Linked DNA regions of Homo sapiens: all the other regions are linked to region 5. The links are contacts of gene promoters, found by promoter capture Hi-C in blood cells and fetal thymus (Javierre and others, 2016). All regions are on one chromosome and are shown on one strand. The core of a region is centred on a gene start or on the middle of the fragment in contact, and the rest is flanking DNA. Distances in the headings are between cores, read along the strand shown. Region 1 overlaps GPRIN1 (G protein regulated inducer of neurite outgrowth 1). Region 2 overlaps SNCB (synuclein beta). Region 3 overlaps CDHR2 (cadherin related family member 2). Region 4 overlaps EIF4E1B (eukaryotic translation initiation factor 4E family member 1B). Region 5 holds the start of UNC5A (unc-5 netrin receptor A).

Region 1 (4,656 bases), core at 1,933-4,432, 210 kb before region 5:
TTCACACCCCACGTCTATCAGCAAAACATAATGGAGTTACCATCAGAATATATCCAGCATCTGGCTACTGCCATCTGGACCCCCCACCATCTCTCACCTGGATTATCCCTGCCTTTTCCTTTGTCCCATAGCTTATTCTCAACACAGCAGCCAGAGGGATCTTAGTAAAACCCGAGACAAATCATGTACCCCTCTGCTCGGAACCAGGCAGTGTCTCCCCATCCCATGCAAAGTAAAAGTAAACTCCTTAGAATGGCTCAGAAGCCCCTGCATCTTCAGGCCCCGTCACCTCCTCTGCCCTTTCTGCTGCTGCTCTCCCTCTCCCTCACGCTGCTTCAGCCACGCGGGGTGCCTCGCTGTGCGCCTTGCTGTGCCTTGAACACGCCTGCCTCCATGCCTTGGCGCTGCCTGCTTCTTCTGCATGGAGAGATTTCTCTCCAAATATCTGCATGGTCGGCTCCCCAAGGCTTTCCCTGACCCATGCAATGTAAAACAGCCTCCTCCCCAGCTCTGGCTGGCATTCTCCACCCTCTTATTCTAATCAGTTTTCCTCCATAGTACCTGTCACCATCTGACATATCACATATATTCGCTTATTGCTTGTGGTGTGTTGCTCTCATTAAAATGCCAGCTCCAGGAGGTGGGGACTTTGCTGTGCTATCTGATATATCCCAGAGTTGAGACCTGGCACACATGCAGTAAGCAAGGAAGATCCTCATACGGATTTGTTCCATGAATGACTGAATGACCTAAGATGCAGAGCCACCTGTGCCCTCCTTGGCTCAAAACCCTCCTCATTCTTGCCGGAAATGTAAATTAGTTGTAATCTTTTTAGAAGGACATTTATCAATTTCTATCAAAGTTTACAACGCGCATAGCATTTGAGCCACCAAGCCCACCTCTAAGCATGGTCCTAAAGATAGACCTGGGGTCCTGAAGATGGTCCTGGGGTACACAAGGGCATGGCTAGTGATGAGAACAAGACGGGGAGGCAGGTTCTGTGAACTGTGGGACAACCACGCAGAGCACCGGGCAGCTACTAGAAGGTGTGGGGTAATGAGGGAAAGCACCCAAGATAAATTAATTGAAAAAGGCCAGGGGACAGCATCGCTACTGGGATCCCACGCGTGTAGCCAAGGAAAAGGACACACATGGATGGGTTTATTTATAAAGAGAATTTCTGGATGGAATCCTATAAAACTTTTAGCAGTGACTGCCTCTCAGAAGGAAGAGCGGGGATCTGAGGGTGGGAGAAGCTTTTCTTTGTGCGCCCCTTTGTGATGTTTAAATTGTGGTTATGTGCGCACATAGTCCTTTTTTTTTCCAATGGACAATAAAGAGAAACCTTTAATGACTCACTCTTACCTTTGGGGTAAAGTCCAGCTCTTTAATATGCTCCTAAGCCCCTATGTTTCTACTTAAGTGCTGGGATTTATCTTTCATTACCCACTCCCACCCCCAAAACATGTACACACACAGATACACACTCTCTCTCTCCCCCACCATCTCAGCCTCTACACACCCTCTTCTGGAGGAATCTCTCCCTCCCTTCTTGCCTGGCTGTCTCTTATTACACCTTCAGATCTCCGTTAAAACACCTCCTCCTCTAGTGGGCCTTGTTTGGCTACCAGCTTCCTGGGGATTCCTGTAGCCTCTCGTTCCTCCTCTAACAAGGCTCATGTCACTCTGCATCTGGCCATTTACACCTCTGGGTCCCTGGCCAGACCTCAGGTCTCTGGATGGGGACACAGTCGATACTGTTCACTACTGGGTCCCTCAGGCTCTGGCTTATGAGGTGGGGGAGGGGGACCATCACTAAGAGGGAACACAGGAAGAGGAACAGTTTTGCAGAGGATCATGGGGCACTGGGTTTCGGAAGTGGAACTGGAGTGCCCATGGGACTTATGGGGGGTGACATCCAGGAGGCAGTAGGAAGCAGGCCAGAAGCACGGGAGAGGTCTGGTTGGAATTCGTGGGATCACTGGATGGTCACCAGCCTGCAGGGGTCAGGCAGGCATCAGATTTGAGTGGCGTGAATTGAGTCCATCTTCATCTTTGGCCTTTTGATAGTGATATGGGCACAAATATTTGTTTTCTCCTACAAGGGAGATGATGAAAGACTCCTGACATCCCCAGACTGAGGGAGACAAGAGGGAGTGGTGGGGACTGTGGCAAACTAGAGGGCACTGGCCCCTTCTAAAGGGGCAACGGCACTCAATTCCTGCCAGCTGTGGCCAATTAGGAATCATTCCATTAACTCAGCATTTACTGAGCACACAGGCAATGTTCTAGGCATTATTCTTGGGACTGGGGATACAGCAGTGAATAAGAAATGTGGGGTCCCTGCCTTATAGATGCAGAAAGATTGGGAGGAGAGAAATAAACAAGTGGCAAATAAATCATAGTATTTCAAATAATGGATGCTGTGAAGACAAAGGAGTGGGCAGCTGGTTTAGACATGTGGTCAAGAAAGGCCCCTCTGAGGCAGTTACCATCTGAGCCAGCCATGAAGAGCTGGAGTGGAGTCGGAAAGGGGGTGGCAGCGGAAGAGGAGGCAGCAAATCACATGAGGCATGGTGGAGGAGGGGGGTTTAGCCTAAGGGCACTGGAAACCCTGGAAGTATTTTCTTTTTATTTGAGACAATGTCTCACTCTGTTGCCCAGGCTGGAGTGCAGTGGCGCGATCTCGGCTCACTGCAGCCTTGACCTCCTGGGCTCAAGTGATCCTCCCACCCCAGCCTCTCAATGTAATAGGATTATACCTTGATCTCTTGAGGCCAAGAGTTCCAGACCAGCATGGGCAACATAGCAGGATCTCGTGTCTACAATAGGATTATACCTAGCGCCTAGTGAGCCACTGTATCCCGCCCCTTGGAAGTATTTAAGCAGGGAAGTGAATGTGGCCGCTGTGCCTCCAGGTTTCCTAAATTTTTTTTTAGCTAAGTCATAAATCTGGATATCTGTATTTTATTTATTTATTTATTGAGACAGAGTTTTGCTCTTGTTGTCCAGGCTGGAGTGCAATGGTGCTATCTTGGCTCATTGCAACCTCTGCCTCCCAGGTTCAAGTGATTCTCCTGCCTCAGCCTCCCAAGTAGCTGGGATTACAGGCATGCGCCACCATGCCCAGCTAATTTTGTATTTTTAGTAGGGACAGGGTTTCTCCATGTTGGTCAGGCTGGTCTCGAACTCCTGACCTCAGGTGATTTGCCTACCTTGGCCTCCCAAAGTGCTGGGATTACAGACATGAGCTACCGCGCCCAGCATGGATATCCATGTTTTAAATATTGGCTAATTTAAAAAATATCATACAGGCTAAACAAAACACTTTTTTTTTTTTTTTTTGAGACAGAGTCTTACTCTGTCACCCAGGCTGGAGTGCAGTGGTACAATCTCAGCTCACTGCAACCTCTGCCTCCCGGGTTCAAGCAATTCTCGTACCTCAGCCACCCGAGTAGCTGGGGCTACAGGCGCACATCACCATGCCCAGCTAATTTTTTAAATTTTTACTAGAGACAGAGTTTCACCGTGTTGGCCAGGGTGGTCTCGAACTTCTGGCCTCAAGTGACTGGCTGCCTTGGCCTCCCAAAGTGCTGCGATTACAGGCATGGTCCACCATGCCCGGCCAAAACACTTTCATGAGCCAACTTTGACCCCTAGGTCACCAGCTTGCAACCTCTGATCCATCTGGCCCTTGGCCTATGGAAAAGGACGTTATAAGCCAGGGTGACCGGGAAGATGGTCAAGGGAAAGGGCCCTGGGGCGGAGTTCCGCGGCTGTAATCCCAGTGCTTTGGGAAGTCAAGGTGGGATGACTGCTTGAGGCCAGGAGTTCCAGATCAGCATGGGCAACACGGCAAGATCCCGTCTCTACAAAAACTTTAAATTAAAATTAAAAAAAAAAAAGAAATTAGCCAGGTGTGGTGGCATGTACTTATAGTCCTGCCTGCTCCAGAGGCTGAGGCAGGAGGATCTCTTGAGTCCAGGAGTTTGAGGCTGCAGTGAGCTATGATCAGCCTGGGTAACAGAACAAGAAACTGTCTTTAAAACAGAGACAGGGAGAGAGAGAAAGGGCCCAGGCTCCAGTGAGGGCCAGGATCTGCCTACCATGCCTGCCTGTTTCCTTCTCTGGAAAACAGGAATTCAACAGCTGCCTGGCTGGTGTACAGGGAGTTTAGCTGGAGCTGGAAGGAGTCAGCAAAGGATATAGGAAGGGTGCTCTGGGCCCTCACTACCCCTCATTTCAGCCCTGGAAGCCCAGCCCTGGGGTCCTCACACACCAGCCCAGCCAATAAGCTCCTCTCCCTGGGTGCAGCCCGGGCAGAAAGTCAGGCCAGCCCACCGCTTATCAGCTCTGTGACTTCAAGCAACGCCCTTCTCCTCCTTGGGGACCCTGAAGAACCCACCTCCTGCTCCCCCAGGGCTATAGTGAGAATTAAAGAAAATGAGGGGTGTGCCTGACTCTGCTCACTTTAGGGCTGGGCTGTGTCTGTGGAAGGCCTGTTTTTATCTGCTCAGCCTGTCAGAGCCCAGCTGTGCTCCCAGGAGGGGGCAGGGGAGGAAAGGGTCTGCAGCAGGGACACAAACCAGCAAAACCTGACCCTCAGACAGGCTTGTTTGACCCACAGAGCTAAACACATTTTAAAATCAGTTTTAA
Region 2 (4,596 bases), core at 25-2,524, 190 kb before region 5:
CTCTGTGGCCCAGGCTGGTGCGCAGTGGTGTGATCTCGGCTCACCGCAACCTCAGCCTCCTGGGTTCCAGCGATTCTCCTGCCTCAGCTTCCCAAGTAGCTGGGATTACAGGCATGTGCCACTGCATCTGGCTAATTTTTGTATTTTTAGTAGAGATGGGGTTTCGCCATGTTGGTCAGGCTGTTCTCAAACTCCTGACCTCAGGTGATCTGCCCACCTCGGCCTCATGCCTGGGATTACAGGCATGAGCCACTGTGCCCAGCCTCATGATAACATTTACAAGAAGTCAAAAAACACCCAACTAGTGTTGTGCTGATAGAAGCCAGGAAGCAAGGCCAGGCATAGTGGCTCACGCCCGTTACCACTCCCAGCATTTTGGGAGGTCAAGGTGGGCAGATCACTTGAGGTCAGGAGTTTGAGACTAGCCTGGCCAACATGGTGAAACCCATCTCTACTAAATATACAAAAATTAGCTGGGCATGGTGGTGCACGCCTGTAGTCTCAGTTACTCAGGAGGCTGAGGCAAGAGCATTGCTTGAACCCAGGAGGTGAAGGTTTCAGTGAGCTGAGATTGTGGCACTGCACTCCAGCCTGGGCAACAGGGCGAGACTCCGTCTAAAAAAAAAGTCAGAAAGCAGTTCCCCTTGGAGGGCGATAGGCAGGGCCAGGACTGAGGGGAGGTGGGTGAGGCTCCTGGAGTGTAGATGTTAGGGAGGCCTGGCCTCCGTCTCCTGGCCATGCAAGTGAGACTCCATGAGTGAGTGCCCCAGACACCTCTTTTGTCTCCCCCTAGTCCTGGCCCTGGGGATAGGAACTGGAAGGGGTCACAAGGTGGGGTCCTGGGGGGTAGTGTTCTGTCTCGAGCTGGCTACTGGTTACAAGGGGAGTTCCCTTTGTGAACATTTCATGGAGCTGCCAGTTTTCCACATGTACATTGTACTTCAATAAAAAGTTCACTTAAAAAAATACCCATAGCCTGTAATCCCAGATACTTGGAGGGCTGAGGCAGGAGGATTGCTTGAGCCCAGGAGTTCCAGATCAGCCTGGGCAACATAGCAGGACCCCATCTCAGAAAACAAACAAACAACCCCAGCCTGGCCACCTGGTAGCTACCTGGCATCAGGCAAGTCATTTTGCTTCTAATCTCAGCAGCCTTGCATGGGAAACGAGGCTGGTGAGGATTCCGTGATGATGGATGGAAAGCATGCTCGAAGCAGAGAGTCTCAGAAATGCAGACCATGGGCCTGCATGAGTCCCCCATGCCGCTGGTGGCCCAAGGGGCTGTTGTCTGTGTTATAACTCTATGATCTTGGGCTCCCTTGGGAGGGTAGCCTTGAGGCGTCAACAAGCACCAGTAGGAGAAAGGTGACCAGAGAGAAATGGTTCTGTGCAAACACCCATCACAGCCTGGGGCTGACAGGCTGAACCTGCCTCTCTTTTGCACCCCAGCTCGCAGCACTAGGACTGGCCCTGTGCCATCACCAAGCGACCCCAGTGACATGGCCTGAGCTTATCCTCCTGACCACCTTATAAGGGAGGCAGGCAGGAAATGGGGTCTTGGGCAAGTGACTTCACTTCTCTAAACCTCAGTCTCTTCATCTGTAAAACGGGCTGGTTATGGTGCCACATTGGGAAGAGTCAATGAGTTAGTTCATCTAGAGTCAAACATCTAGGACAGTGCCTGCTCATGAAAGAGATCAATGAATGGAAGTGATTATTGGTAACATGATTATAAGAAATGGGAAGTCATGGCCGGGTGCAGTGGCTCATGCCTGTAATCCCAGCACTCTGGGAGGCCGAGGCAGGTGGATCACCTGAGGTCAGGAGTTCGAGACCAGCCTGGCCAACATGGTGAAACCCCGTCTCTACTAAAAATACAAAAAATTAGCCGGGTGTGGTAGCGGGTGCCTGTAATTCCAGCAACTTGGGAGGCTGAGGCAGGAGAATTGCTAGAATCCAGGAGGCAGAGGTTGCAGTGAGCCAAGATCGTGCCATTGCACTCCAGCCTGGGCAACAAGAGCAAAACTCCGTCTCAAAAAAAAAAAAAAACAAAAAAAAACAAATGGGAAGTCATACAGATAGTAAAATGCAGAGACAGGGCTTGAACTAGAACTTCTGAGTCAAGATCCTGACTTCCAACAGTGGAAGGAACCAACTGTGCAAAATGACAGGAGTGGAGGGCAGCGTGGGGTCTCCCACAGCCTGGTGGATGCACTCATGCTGAACGTACACTGATCACCCAAACCAGACGCTGCAGAAGGAGCCCCCATCCCCATGGAGGCAGGGTCTGCACGCGTCCATGGACAGACACAGAGCATTCACAGCGAATGCCTGCACACACATGTCATGGGGGATCCACTTCCAGGCACGCCTGTGGTCACAGGATCCCCTGCAGGCAGACCCAGACTGCTTGAGTGATCATGTGGCCACAATCTCTTGCAGGGCATTCACTGTATGCAAACCCAGCTCTTTATATCCATGGTTCTCATAGTATGCTCCCTGGAACTGCGGCATCAACCTCACCCGGGTACTTGTTAGAAATGCAAATCCTCCAGCCCCACCTCAGACCTACTGAATCAGAAATTCTAACGATGGGGCCAAAAATCTGTATTTTAACCTGGCCTCTTGGTGATTGATACACACTCAAGCTTTGAGAATATCTATATTATCTCCAATCTGCATGAGATTCCTATTGTGTTCACTCGCATTTTACAAGTGAACTATCAAGTTCAGAGACATGGTGGGAACTGCCCAGGGTCACACAGCCAGGAAGTAGTGGAGTTAGGATTCAAACCCAGCTGAGGCTGGGGGTAGGTGGGTTCAGAGCTCACAACTCTTAACCCCCTCTTATCAGGGGGTCCTAGTAGGGGGATCTGTCTCCATGCACACATGAGTGGTTCCCAGGGCTCCCCTGGGGAAACACAACTGCACAGATCACACCCACCCCAGCACAGCTCCCACCTGCTCCAACCTGCCTCAGGGCCTTGGTACTTGCTGTTCCTACAGCCTGAAATTCGCTTCCCACACATCTCAAGGCTGCCTCTCTCATCCCTTGGGTGTCAGCTCAAATGGTTCTTCCTCAGAGAAGTCTTCCCAGCCAAAATAGCCCTCTCACCCCTTGCCTGTCTGTCCCATCGCCCTCTCTGTCTTTTCTCTGTAGCACTTATCCCCGCGGAAAGCATCCTGCCTGCTGGCTTGCGTTTTACTATCTTCTCCCACTACAATGTCAGCTGCAGGAACGTAGGAACCTATTCACTGCGGCAGCCTCTACAACAATTCCTCTCTGGCATGGATATTTGTTGAATGAAAAGAAATGAATGAACAATCATTGACACATGCAGACGTGGCCAGAAGTCATCTGGGTCACGCTGGCAAGCAGGATACACGCAGACAGCCAGGTCTGGGTCCCCATCACCGGGAGCGTCACACCCATGCACGCCTTTATTCAGATGCATTCTGAGCTGAGTCTAGCACGGGCCTGCAGGATGGGAGGCAAAGTGGCTTGTGTTCCAAGCTGGTGGCAGGATTAGGGGGGCGGGGATGGTGACAGGTTTATTTGTGTGCCTGGTGTGTGTGTGTGTGTGTGTGTGTGTGTTTGCCTGCATGTGCGGGTCAGAAGGATCGCTTACCTTCAGATCAGTAGGGAATTCCTCCCTCTTCACCAGTCCTGTGGCTGCTGCGATGTTCCCTGCCCCAGAGAACACAGCTCCTCCCAGATGTGAGGCCTGTTCCTTGGTTTTTTCAGCCACTGGAGCAGGGAGGGGGTTGAGGAAGGGGTTTGGGAGCCAGGGGGAAACACCGATGCCCTGCCTTGTAGTATCCCAGGGCCTGCCCTCCCCACGGAGCATTCCCGCAGAAGCCTTGGGAGTCTCCCCCGCCCCCGCCCTCTGGTTCCCGGCCAGATCATCCGCCTAAGTGAGAGAAGGGCTGGTGCCAGGGCTGGGCTAGTACCTGAAGCCACACCTTGTACCACACCTTCTCGGGTCTTGCTTCCTGCAGGGAGAAAAAGCGGCACATTTAAGGACTCTGCGCTGAGGGAACAGAAACTCCAGCACAGCATGGTGATTACAGAGTGGGCATCCTGGCCCCGTCACTGCCTCCTTGGGTCCCCACATCCTACAACCTGCACCCCCATGTTAACCCCCGTCTTATCACTGCACTGGGCCCCACACCTCTGTCTGCAAGGGTTGCAGTTCTCTCCCACCTGATGCGATACCCCACCCCTCTAGTGGATGTTGGCTGAGGGCCAGTGCTGTGTCAAGTCCTCTGCCTGCCCCGCTGCACTTCACTTTTCCCCAGCCCTGGGAGGCGGGTGCTGTTATTGTCCCCGTTTCACGGATGGAAGCTCAGTGTGGGTTCCACCACTAGGAAGTGGCTGAACTGACATTCAAGTTCAGGCCTTTCTGACCCTAAAACTTTAGCTACCAACCACTCTCACAGCACGTAGCCCAGGATAGGAGGCAGGTGGGGGTGGGAGTAGGGGTGGAGCTGGGAGGCCACAAAGCCATGTATTTTGAAAGGTTCCCCTCGTGCCCCATGCACCACTGCCCATAGCCCACTGCCCCACTCCATTTCCTCTAAAGATTCTCTTCTCCT
Region 3 (4,594 bases), core at 1,460-3,959, 230 kb before region 5:
TGGCCCCAGGCAATTACTCAACCTCCCTAGGCACTCAGGCTCCTCATCTATAAAACGGGGGTGAAAAAGGTTAAAGATTAAGTGAGTTAATGAATGGAAAGTGCTTGGTAGAGTGCCTGACCTATAGACAGTATCAGTGAATATCAGCTCTAATTGTCACTCATAAAGTCCCACCTGAAACCCTCCTGTCTCCCTGCCACCATTGAAAAGCAAAGGGAAGGGGTGAAAATCAGCATTGCTGGTGTCTATTGCACATCAGGGCATCCGCCAAGGTTGGGATGGTTATTACCATTTTGTTTTTATTTATTTATCTATTGATTTATTTATTTTTGAGACAGGGTCTCCCTTTGTCACCCAGGCTGCAGTGCAATAGTGCCATCATGGCTCACTGCAGACTCAACCTCCCAGGCTCAAGCGATCCTCCTGCCTCAGCCTCCTGAGTAGTTGGGACTATAGGCATATGCCACCATGCCTGGTTAATTTTTTTATTTTTGTAGAGATGGGGTTTTTCCATGTTGCCCAGGCTGGTCTTGAACTCCCGAGCTCAAGCGATCCACCCGCCTTGGCCTCCTAAGTAGCTAAGACTAAAGATGCGTGCCACCATGCCTGGCTAATTTGGCTAATTTTTAAAATTTATTTTTCATAGAATCAGAGTCTCACTTATTGTCCAGGCCAATTTTGAACTGTTGGCCTCAAGCGACCCTCTCAACTCAGCCTCACAAAATGCTGGGATTACAGGCATAAGTCACTGAGCCCGGTTTATTACCGTTTTATTGATTGAGCAACTGAGGCGGGCCTAGTTGCTGTGGCTCATGCCAAAAACCTCAGTACTTTGGGAGGCCAAGGTGAGAGGATTGCTTGAGCCCAGGAGTTTGAGACTGGGCTGGGCAACATAGCGAGACCCCATCTCTACTAAAATAAAAAATTAGCCAGGCATGGTGGCATGTACCTGAAGTCCCAGCTACTTGGAAGGCTGAGGCAGGTGGATCATTTCAGCCCAGGAGGTTGAGGCTGCGGTGAGCTATGATCATGCCACTGCAATCCAGCCTGTGAGACAGAGCAAGACCCTGTCTCAAAAAAAGAAACTGAGGCACAGAGAGGTTCAGTACCTTGCCTGGGGGTCACAAAATTGGGTTTTGACTTCAATCAGTCTGGTTCTAAGGCTGCCACCAGCCCACAAGGCACCTTCCTCTGGAACAGTATTGTGACAAATGTGCACCTCTGCCGTGTCTGTGATGTGGATGGCACCCCATAGGGTTGTGCAGTGCACAGCCTGCACCACTGCACATAGCAGCCCTGTGTCCCCTGGACTGGGATGTGCCATTTTCACACAAGGGTCAGAGAGTGAGACCTCAGAAATGAAGAAAACGAAGCAGAATGAGGACTTGCTGGTTGTCCTTAGGGTGGGAGGGCTGCAAAGAGAGAACTTCATTTCCTGAGTGAACAGGTTTCTTCACCCCTGTGAGCCGTCCTCACAATTGCCCTATTAGTGGGGACTACTACCCCATTTTGCAGATGAGGACACTGAGGTCCAGAGAGGTCAAGGTCACACATGAGGCAGAGGTGGAGCAAGATGTGACTCAGTGCTCTTATCCACTCCTGTGAGTTAGGGTGACCTTGAGAATGCAGCTGGTCTTGTGCGTGGAGCCAATGATGTCATCGCTGGGAAATTAGCAGCAGAAAAGACATCTAGCTAAGGTGCAAGAATGTTGTCTTCCAAATGTTCATTCTAGGGTTATTCAGAAAAACAAACACCTGTTATGTGACCCACAAACCTGGGAAGGGCTGGAGTGCTCAGGGCATCCCCCAAGCACATGCCAGTGTTAGGAGACATAGGGGAGGGCAGAGTCACCTCCAGGCTGTGACAATAGTTGCAGGGCTCCAGCTGTGCCCAGTGGGCTAGGGCTGGCCACAGAGGTGAGAGCCAAAAACAGCTGGTGTCTGAGGCAGGAGCAGGTCTAAGCTTCTGCAGGTCCCCGGAGCCCAGCTCTGACTGAGCACAGAGCTGGTGTTGTGGGCTCAGTTGTGTGCAGGAGGGACAGGGGTAGGAGGGGACAAGGGAAAGTGTGGGCCTTGGAGCCTTTGTGGACATATAATGGTATTGGTGCCAACACAATAAATCCGAGAGATGGGAGTCAAGCTGGGCCAGGCAGGGTCGCAGGTGGGGACCCAGAACTGTGCTTCTAGAAAGCAGGGTCTAGAACAAGTCCTGAGCTGTGGTCAGAGAAACAGGAAGCAAGCAGGGCTTCCTGAGGATGGATGTGTAAGGCCAAGGTCCCACTGTAGGTCCCTGAACCCCGGGTGTGTGACCTGGGCAAGTTCCCTCCTCTCAGAGCCTGTCTCCTCATCTGGGAAGTGGGCAGTGAGGTCTGAGGCACTAGTAGAGTCCATGCCTTGGAGCACAGGGATTATTGGTTTCTCGGATTGGCTCTGGGGAGGGTGAGATTGGATCCCGGGGACTCAGACCTGTCTCTGACTGCAGGACATCAATGATAACCTGCCCATCTTCAATCAGTCCAGCTACAACTTTACGGTGAAGGAGGAGGATCCAGGTATGTGCTCCCTGGGCCAGGAGAGACACTGCGGCTGGGACCCAGTGTGGCTTTGTCAGGGTGGACCTCGAGTTCCAAGAGAGGCAAGGGCAGAGGAGGCTTCCGATGGCGGGGTCAGGAGTCCTTCTGAGCTCTGCCCCTTGTCCACAGGAGTGCTAGTGGGCGTGGTGAAGGCCTGGGACGCGGACCAGACGGAAGCCAACAACCGCATCAGCTTCAGCCTGTCGGGGAGTGGTGCCAACTACTTCATGATCCGAGGCTTGGTGCTGGGGGCTGGGTGGGCTGAGGGCTACCTCCGGCTGCCCCCGGACGTGAGCCTGGATTACGAGACACAGCCCGTCTTCAACTTGACAGTGAGTGCTGAGAACCCAGACCCCCAGGGGGGTGAGACCATAGTAGACGTCTGCGTGAATGTGAAAGACGTGAACGACAATCCCCCCACCCTGGATGTAGCCTCACTCCGGGGCATCCGTGTGGCTGAGAATGGCTCACAGCACGGCCAGGTGGCTGTGGTGGTTGCCTCGGATGTGGACACCAGTGCCCAGCTGGAGATACAGCTTGTGAACATTCTCTGCACCAAGGCCGGGGTCGATGTGGGCAGCCTATGCTGGGGCTGGTTCTCAGTGGCGGCCAACGGCTCTGTGTACATCAACCAGAGCAAAGCCATCGACTACGAGGCCTGTGACCTGGTCACGCTGGTTGTGCGGGCCTGTGACCTAGCCACGGACCCCGGCTTCCAGGCCTACAGCAACAATGGTAAGGCAGCCTGTCCTTGCAGGGCTTGGCAGGCCATAGCTTAGGGGCCGCGGGAAGGAGCCCTGGGCTGGAACTCACAAGGTCTGGGCTCAGATCTTGGCTCCAGCCCTTTCCAGCTGCAAATACTGGGAAAGTCCCAAACCCTCTCCAAGCTTCAGTTTCCCCATCTGTCCAGTGGAGTTGGGCAGTGGGGTGGGCTGTGAAGATTCAATGAGAATATGGATGTATGGCATTTATTGCAGTGCCTGGCATGCAGTAGCATCAAATTAATGCCATTATTTTACAAGATGCTGTGAAAGAAAGATAACACTGCAGAGCTAGATGTGTGCTTGTATCCCACTTCTGACACCAAATAGCAATAATAATCACATTAACAACTAGCATATATTGAGTCCTTATGACAGCCAAGAACTACACCAGGCACCTTGTAAGAATTTTTCCACTTCCACACAACCCATGGGGTAGGTGTTCCCTATCCAATTTTATAGATGAGGAAACTGAGGCAGAAAGTGGGTATTTAAACAACCAGCTTATATAGTTAGAATGTGTCAGTATAATGTCATAGGTGAGATCTACCTAGGCTGGGCCCAATCCTGGCCCACCACTATTGCTGTGTGACTTTGACAAGCTGCTTATCTGCTCTGAGGTCTGGGATGATACTCCCACCCACACAGGCCAGAGAAGACCGATCAGGCATTCTGGGTCAGGAGCAGGGAAGGGGACTGAGCATGGGGGAACACATGGGAGAGAAGCTGCGGGGCATGGGGTTGAGGCTGCGGGGCACGGGGTTGAGGCTGCGGGGCACAGGGTTGAGGCTGCGGGGCACGGGGTTGAGGCTGCGGGGCATGGGGTTGAGGCTGTGGGGCACAGGGTTGAGGCCCAGGCTCTTTGGGTCAAGCTTTTGCCCAGAGCCAAAGCCAGCTGACCTTGTCTCCTAGGAAGCCTCCTCATTACCATTGAGGACGTGAATGACAATGCACCCTATTTTCTGCCTGAGAATAAGACTTTTGGTAAGCAGCAACCCCATTCACACACCATACCCCTGCTCCATAAGGCCGCCTTTGAGCAACCCCGACAGACCCTCCTTGGACCCCAGGGGGAGCCTTTAGAAAGGGGGGAAGGCCTCTAATCCTGCATCTTCCTAGGGCTGCAATAGGAGAGGACATTGGAGTTTTCTTTTTTCTTTCCTTTTTTTCTTGAGACGGAGTCTTGCTCTGTCGCCCAGGCTGGAGCGCAATGGTACGATCTCAGCTCACTGCAACCTCCGCCTCCCAGGTTCAAGCAAT
Region 4 (2,901 bases), core at 17-2,516, 170 kb before region 5:
AGCCAGGGCCAGAGCTCACAACCCATCCTGACTCCTTTTTTTGGCTCAGGTGAGTGAAGCTGAGGGTGGAATCCGAGAGTGGGAGGAGGAGGAGAAGGAGGAGGAGGCAGCAGAGAGGACGCCCACAGGAGAAAAGTCTCCAAACTCTCCCAGGACTTTGCTGTCTCTGAGAGGGAAGGCCCGGACGGGGGGCCCCATGGAAGTCAAGCTGGAGCTGCACCCCTTGCAGAACAGGTAGGCAGGAGCCTGCGAGTGGAACACAGCCCCTTGCTTTCAGGCCAGCCTCTGTGCTGGCAGCGTGGCCTTGGGCAACCCCGCCTCTCTTGGCCCTAGCTCTTCATCCGTGGGAGGCCAGGGCTGACCTAAGCCTTGGGCCCTGTTGGCCCTTCCAGCCCTAACCCCGCAGAGACTGTGGGTCAAACACCCCCACTCCTCCCCTGCCCTTCAGGACAACTGATTTCATTCACCTGAGAGGGGAATGCTGTGCCCCAAATCTCATCTCCCAGTTCGCCCTTGAAGGGGAGGGTCCTCCCTGTCAGTCCAGGTGCCCCGGGGGTGGACTTGGCTCTCTGCTTCCTCCTGGCTGCCTCCCCCTTCCCCTACCAGGTGGGCTCTGTGGTTCTTCAAGAATGACCGCAGCCGGGCCTGGCAGGACAACCTGCACCTGGTCACCAAGGTGGACACTGTGGAGGACTTCTGGGCGTGAGTGTCTGTCCCCAGTGGGGCTAGAGTTGGGGGGCTCTGAGCTCTGGGCTCCCTCTCTCCGGGTTGAGCCAGCCCTCCCTAGGGCCTTTCAGCCTTTGTGAGGGCTGGGGCTTTGTGGGTTCTGCCCAGGGGGTATAGGGCACAACCACCCCCCACCCCACCACCTTCTTTGGGCTCAGGGAGAGAGCCTGGGGAGCAGGAGAAGCAGGAAGCTGACCTTGACTCGGCCACTCCAGGGCTTTGTGACCTGGGCAAGTTCCTTCCCCTCTCTGAACCTGTCTCAGCTGCAAAGGGAGGACTCGGCTGCCTCAGTGTCCGGGTGCTCACGGGAGTGGCTCTGAAAAGGGCTACACAAGCCCTAGGGAGGGTGAGAAGGCCTCGGCTGTAGCTGGAGGGGGGAGCACCAGGGGGTCTAAAACCCTCCCCAGGGGTTGGCTCAGCCTTCACTGGGAAGGCTCTGTGGAAAAGGTGGGTCTTGAGAGTTTGGATAAACGGGAGTGGAATCCCAGGTGGCAGGCCAGTGTAAGCAAAGGCTTGGAGGCCATGGGGTCGGATGAGGAGTTGGGAGGGCTGAACCCAGTTGGAACCAGGCCCTAAAAAGCCTTGACTTTTGGCATGGGGTCGGGGGCTCTGTCCAGGCTATACAGTCACATCCAGCTGGCCAGCAAGCTCTCCTCTGGCTGTGACTACGCCCTCTTCAAGGTAAGCTCTGCTCTCCTCTTTCCCTCCCGCAAAGGGACAAGGGGTTGATCCCTCCCGGACTCCACTGCGTTAATCCCTCAGAGGGGTGGGGGTGGGGAGCTACGGGCCACCTCTCAGCAGAGTTGTGGTTTCTGACTGGAGGAAATGCTCTACAGGAGCCCGGACAGAGTAGGTCAGGCCCAAGCCGCACCTTGGAGGACCTTAAGAGGCGGGAAGAGGGAGAGGGAGAGATTTCTGACCTGGCTCCTTAACTAGGGAAGGGCATCAGAATTGCTTGAGGACACTCATTGATGCCACACCCATCCCTGGAGGGCTGACATTGTGTTTAGAGATCTCCCCAGTGACTTCTGCCCTGCCTGGGAACCATGCAGCCAAGCCTGGGATGTCCCCCTTGCCTGCATTGGGGTCTGCCCCTGAGGCTTCCTTAATCCACCCCGATTTGAATGCTTGTCTTAAGGAACTCAGTAAAAGAGACATGCACATATACAAGGCTATACAAGGTGACCAGTGCTGTCTGTCGGGGGGAGCTGAGTGGCTGGGGGTGGAACCTGCTTGCACTGAGGGAAGGGAGGATAAGAGAATCTGGCCTACTTAGGGCCTCAGCAGAGAGCGGATAAGGCCGGGATGGTGGGTGGGTCCCCATTTCCCTTTGAACACAGGGAGGCAGTTGACTTGCCATCTGCCTTGCAGGATGGCATCCAGCCCATGTGGGAGGACAGCAGGAATAAACGGGGTGGCCGCTGGCTGGTCAGCCTGGCCAAGCAGCAGCGCCACATTGAGCTGGACCGGCTGTGGCTGGAGACGGTGAGTTGGAGGAGGAGGGTCCTCAGGGGAAGAGACGGGCTGTGTGGGTCTCATGGTGGCAGTGGTCTCAAGGATGGCAGGCCAGTCCCTATGTCCCAGCCGGTGATCTCACAACCCCCTACTTCGGGTCCAGCTGCTGTGTCTGATCGGGGAGAGCTTTGAGGAACACAGCAGAGAGGTATGTGGGGCCGTCGTCAACATCCGCACCAAGGGGGACAAGATCGCTGTGTGGACGAGGGAGGCGGAAAACCAGGCGGGCGTGCTGCACGTTGGGTGAGGAGGGTCTCTGGCACAGGGTGGGGACTTGGGTCTCTGCTAGAGGGAAGGTGGGTGGAGGGGGCTTGGCCTGCATGGGAGACCTCTGAAAGTCTCCATAGCCTCCCTCCCTTCTGCCTTGCCCACCTGTATGGAAGGTCTGGCGTTCAGATTTCTAACTTTCTCTTACGGCAGTGCAGCTCTCCTTTTGCATTAAGGGGGTCATATTTTGGGTTTCCACATGGGTAAGACACAACAGGTGTGGCTGTGGCCAGAATGAGGGTAGGAGTCTGGTGGCCTAAGTTATCTCTAGGACCCTCTGATGACTACCTGTGTCTCTTTTCCTCTGTGTCCCCCGCACCTGCAGGCGTGTATACAAAGAGCGCCTGGGCCTCTCCCCAAAGACCATCATTGGGTACCAGGCCCATGCAGACA
Region 5 (4,463 bases), core at 1,151-3,650:
CTCTCCCTACGCCTCAGCTACTGCATCTGCATAATGGGAATAATAATGTTTCTTTAACAGGACTGCATGTGAGGATCAAGCCAAATTATAAATGTATGCAAGGACATAGTGGTGTCCAGCATACTTTTTTTTTTTTTTTTTTTGAGACGGAGTCTTGCTTTGTCGCCCAGGCTGGAGTGCAGTGGCATGATCTTGGCTCACTGCAACGTCCGCCTCCCAGGTTAAAGCAATTCTCCCTGGCTCAGCCTCCTGAGTATCTGGGATTACAGGTGCCCACCACCACATCTGGCTGTGTGTGTGTGTGTGTGTGTGTGTGTGTGTGTGTGTGTGTGTATTTTTAGTAGAGATGGTGTTTCGCCATGTTGGCCAGGCTGGTCTCAAACCCCTGACCTCAAGCGATCCACCCACCTCAGCCTCCCAAAGTGCTGGGATTACGGTGTGACCCACCACACCCGGCCATCCCTTTAGACAGAGCATACACTATTATAATGTCATCTTATACCCCAGCCCTCAATCCTCTTCCTTCATCCTCAGCCACCAGCCTCCAGTGCCCAATCCCCAGTGGGCCCCAAGGGCAGATCCTGCCACTGACTCTCCTCTCCCACCCACCTCTTTCCTGCAGAGGCTGAAGAGGGGTGTTATGGTGCCAACAGGAGCAGCCTGGGCACACACTGCTCCTACACACACACACACACACACACACACACACACACACGAGACATGTGAGTTGATCAGGCCCTGACACCGTGTACATTCAAACTGCCCCGAAAGCAAAGTTCCCAAACCAGAAGGTGGTGAACACTTTCCCCTGGGCTCACATGAAGTCTAAAAAATTATTTTTTACTAGTTAAAAATTTTAAATCAGAATATTTCACATACGACGGCTTCTGTTGAAAATTTGGAAGATGCGGCTATACTGTGCCCCGGTCCCCTCCCCCGACAACCAGCACCTGGAGCAGAAAAGGCAGCTGCCCCTTGAGATGGGATCCTTGTGCCTGTCCCCAGCACTGCCCTTTGCCTCCCTGGCGATGGAGCCCAGCGTCTGTATGGTTGCCTCTGGAGCTTTAGCTGGTGTTTTTTATAGTAGACTTAAGAGGAAAGCAAAACATTTTTCATAACCCTTCTCTATCAAAAGTGGGAAACAAAAGACAGACCGAGAGAGGGCCTCGTGTCTCAAGAAATATAGGAGAGCTCATATCTCTTTGTGGAAGCAAGACCATCCCTTACATCGCCTAGCCTGCAGCGCCAATTTATATTATCGACCGGCCCCGTAGGCGTTTGAGTTTGCGACCCTGCCCTCACCCTGCTCATTCCCCTCCCGACCCAGACTAGGACCCTCTCTTTTTCCGATCACTCCCCCCAGGCACACCGCACGCGGCTGTCATTTCCTTTCTCCTTCAAGGCAGCCCTCTGTTTATTTTAACCCGATTAGGGAATGGGGGTGGGGCACAGGAGACTCCAGCAGCGGTCACTGCTGGAGGCTCCAGGAGACGACGTGACTTGACCAAGGTCACAGAGCTGGAAGGTGAAGTCGCCTGGACCCTACCCCCGGTCTCCCTAGCTGCCAAAGCCCAGCTCGTTCCTTTACACCCACGTCGCGGGCGCCGTGCGCTCTCGGGGCTCAAACACCGCGCGCCCAGTCGGGTGTGCTGCGCCTGAAGGTTGTTTTCCTTCGGCGAACGGCGCCGAGGGGTTAGGGAAACCTTGGGTCATGGTGTGAGGCGCGCCCCTGGAATCCACCAGCCTGCGAGGCTGGGACTGCGGGTGTCCCCGAGTCTGGCCTGCCAGCTCTGGTGGCCAGGGCACCTCTGCGCGCGGGCCAGGGCCCCGGGGCTCTCCCGCAGTCCCCTAACCAAGCCGCGGGCTGGCAGCGTACCGCGGCGCCCGGACGACCCCGGAGCGCGGCCGCGAGGAAAGGGCGGGGGAGAGGACTGCAGCGGAACCTGCCCGGGGCACCCCTGCCCTGGGCGGCTCTCCGCAGGCTGGCGCCGCGCCGGGGTCGCCGCAGCCCCGGGCCCCTCCCGGGCCACCTGTGCGCAGACTGGCGGGCCCGCGAGAGCCCGGATCCGGAGCACCGATCCACTCCGGGTTTCAGACTCCTGCCCCTGTCCCTGGAGACCCCGCGGGGCGGTGGGAGGCCTCCACGCCCACCACCCCAAGCCCCTCCCTGGGGGAGCCTCAGGCATCGCCCAGAGGGATTCCCGGTGCTGGGGGTGGCCCGCGCGCGCTGCGCGGGGCGGCCCGGCCCCTCCTTCCTTCCCCCGCCCCTCCCAGCCGCCGCCCCGCTCCGTCGCTCCAGTCCGGGTTTTGCGGCGCCCACCGGCCCGCTCTCCGGCTGCGGGCTCCGCGGCGCGGCTGGCTCGGTGCGCGGCGCGGCTGGCGCTGCGCTCCGCCCCGGCTGCATTGCTGCGCTCCCGTGCCCAAGGGAGCCACGCGCCGCGTGCGCCCGGCAGCCGGCCGCCCGGAGGCAGCGCAGTCCGCTGGCATGGGCCCCGGGGGCGCCCCGAGCTGGGGCTCCGGGCTGAGGCGCTAAAGCCGCCCTCCCGCCCGCGGGGCCCCGCGCCCGGCCCGCCCGCCTGCCCGCCCGCGGCCATGGCCGTCCGGCCCGGCCTGTGGCCAGCGCTCCTGGGCATAGTCCTCGCCGCTTGGCTCCGCGGCTCGGGTGAGTCACGCCGCGCGCGCTCTGGGGAGGCTTGCGGGGGACCGTGCGCGCGAACGCTCGCTGCTCTGGGGGTCCCTGACCAGCGCTGCCAGACCCGGCTGGGAGCCCCCCGAGGCCAAACTTTGCGAGGCGGGACGCGGGGGGCTCTTCTTGCTGCTGCGCAGCTTCCCCGCGCGCTCTCCCGGAAGCCTGGGTTCTGCCAAGTCCAGGAGCAGCTGTCAGCCCGCGGGGCTGGCGAGTGTAGACACCCCACGCCTCCGGGTGGGGGAAGTTTGCTGGTTGCCTGGGCCCGGAGCAGGGCTGGGGGTTTGGATCAACCCCAGGGAGCCTGACTTTGAGGATTCGAAGATTAGAGGGTTTTGAGCCTATCCCAGTGCCCAGGAAATGGGGGGTGCGGGGAACGTTTAAGATACCTCTTCCCGGTAGCATCTGCCCTAAACAGCCACTCACAATCTCCCAGCTTGGCACCTGGCCTCTGCCCACGTCCAGAACACAGTGTCCTCCTCTGTCCCCGCCACACACGCTCTCACACGCACACACTCAGGCGTGGAGGCGCATACACCAGCCCCCAGTCCTTGCAGCCAGCACAGTCAAAGCGCCGCGGTCCCGGTGGCCGGGGCTGTGGCTCCTGGCCTCCCTGGTGCGGGGGGCCAGAGTTGTGTGTGGTTGGTCCGCCAGTTTCCCCTTCTTCCTTAAACTCCATAGCCTTTCTTGGCCCCTGCATGCCCCATTGGTCACCCTAACCCACTGCTAACTCAGCCCTCAGCCCACCTCATTCCCTTGGGAGGGGCTTGGGGGGAGGAAGTTCCCCTGCATCCTTTGTCTGCTGTCCCTGAGCCTTCACCTAGGCTGAGCTGTGGGGGCCTCCTGATCTCTGCCCCCCATGCACTTAGCTGAGTTGAGCGTATGTGTCTGTGGTGGTGGGGGGTGGGTGCCATTTGTGTGGTCAAGGGGGCTTGAGGCTTACCCTGGCAATTCTCGATTCTTGCTGCCCCTAGAACCTGGGCGGTTACTCCCCAGCCTGGCCAGGCCGCTGCTTATAACAGGGGTGTTGGAAGGGAGCACTGGGGTTTCTGAGCTGCCAAACCAGATTGATCAGAGATCAATGAGTGGGAGCTCAGGAGCCAGCCTGATGATTGAGGCCGATGGCTGTTTCCTTAAAGGGTGTCTCTGCGCAGCGCATCCTGCACCCACCACTGCCTGACCGCCCGCCCCATCCTGCCTCCTCAGTACCCCTCTCTACTCCATCCCACCCCTTCTATCTCCCTTCTCCATCAGCACCCCTCTTCTTCCCCAGGGCCTCTCCTTCTAATCCTGACCAAGCTGAGAGGCTGAACTGCTGTTGGGTGTGTGTCCGTGTCCGCCACATGTGTGTGTTAGGGGCGTGTGTGCAGCTCCGCAGATGAGCACCCGGGTGCAGGTTGCACTGTTGTCCATGATGAGGTGGGGATATTAGTGCCCCACACACAGGTGGGGTGTTGCCTGACACCCAGTAGGTACCCTGGAAATGTTTTCTGAGTTGATGCTTTTGAGGGCTGTGTGGTCATAGCTGCATGTCGCCCACGTGAGCACGTGTGAAGGCTGTGGGTTGACATGTGTGCCCGGGTAACCAGGGGGGTTGGCATGGTGTGTGCAGCATTGGCATGTGTGTGCCCTGATGAACGTGTGTGATGACCAGCATGCCGCACGTGTGTGACGGCTGTGTGCAGTTGCACAGGTGAGCGTGTACAGATAAGGGGGCACAGGTACCGGTGAAGCAGGGTGCTGCGGCCTGGAGCGGGGGGTTGCCACAGGGACTCCT

Evidence for each region. The method cuts DNA at HindIII sites, captures the fragments that hold promoters and counts their contacts. A CHiCAGO score of 5 or more calls a contact.
Region 1: a contact is called between a fragment that was not itself captured here and the fragment with the promoter of UNC5A in region 5, in 2 of 17 cell types (M1 macrophages and M0 macrophages). The highest score is 6.9, in M1 macrophages.
Region 2: a contact is called between a fragment that was not itself captured here and the fragment with the promoter of UNC5A in region 5, in 1 of 17 cell types (M1 macrophages). The highest score is 5.3, in M1 macrophages.
Region 3: a fragment that was not itself captured here is called in contact with the fragment with the promoter of UNC5A in region 5 in 1 of 17 cell types (M1 macrophages); the score reaches 6.0 in M1 macrophages.
Region 4: a fragment that was not itself captured here is called in contact with the fragment with the promoter of UNC5A in region 5 in 1 of 17 cell types (M1 macrophages); the score reaches 6.0 in M1 macrophages.

The regions. Positions count from the first base shown.
Region 1 is chr5:176,601,767-176,606,422 of GRCh38, forward strand. The region is part of intron 1 of GPRIN1 (G protein regulated inducer of neurite outgrowth 1); the gene reads right to left. Among named protein-coding and RNA genes, the nearest start is that of GPRIN1, 6.1 kb to the right of the region's middle. The HindIII fragment of the contact is 3,857 bases long and covers 1,255-4,656 here.
Region 2 is chr5:176,622,769-176,627,364 of GRCh38, forward strand. It overlaps SNCB (synuclein beta), which reads right to left. Exons shown (of 6, transcript NM_003085.5): 3 at 3,952-3,993; 4 at 3,630-3,748. Among named protein-coding and RNA genes, the nearest start is that of MIR4281, 4.4 kb to the right of the region's middle. The HindIII fragment of the contact is 2,743 bases long and covers 1-2,646 here.
Region 3 is chr5:176,581,708-176,586,301 of GRCh38, forward strand. CDHR2 (cadherin related family member 2) reads left to right here. Exons shown (of 32, transcript NM_017675.6): 18 at 2,483-2,552; 19 at 2,703-3,308; 20 at 4,247-4,318. Among named protein-coding and RNA genes, the nearest start is that of GPRIN1, 26 kb to the right of the region's middle. The HindIII fragment of the contact is 1,497 bases long and covers 1,962-3,458 here.
Region 4 is chr5:176,643,033-176,645,933 of GRCh38, forward strand. EIF4E1B (eukaryotic translation initiation factor 4E family member 1B) reads left to right here. Exons shown (of 9, transcript NM_001099408.2): 4 at 50-234; 5 at 607-702; 6 at 1,344-1,407; 7 at 2,098-2,211; 8 at 2,345-2,484; 9 at 2,834-2,901. Among named protein-coding and RNA genes, the nearest start is that of TSPAN17, 3.0 kb to the right of the region's middle. RefSeq lists enhancers at 412-1,053, 1,054-1,693, 2,275-2,785. The HindIII fragment of the contact is 4,593 bases long and covers 1-2,901 here.
Region 5 is chr5:176,808,159-176,812,621 of GRCh38, forward strand. UNC5A (unc-5 netrin receptor A) reads left to right here and starts at 2,401. Exons shown (of 15, transcript NM_133369.3): 1 at 2,401-2,662. The coding sequence starts at 2,593. The HindIII fragment of the contact is 10,823 bases long and covers 1-4,463 here.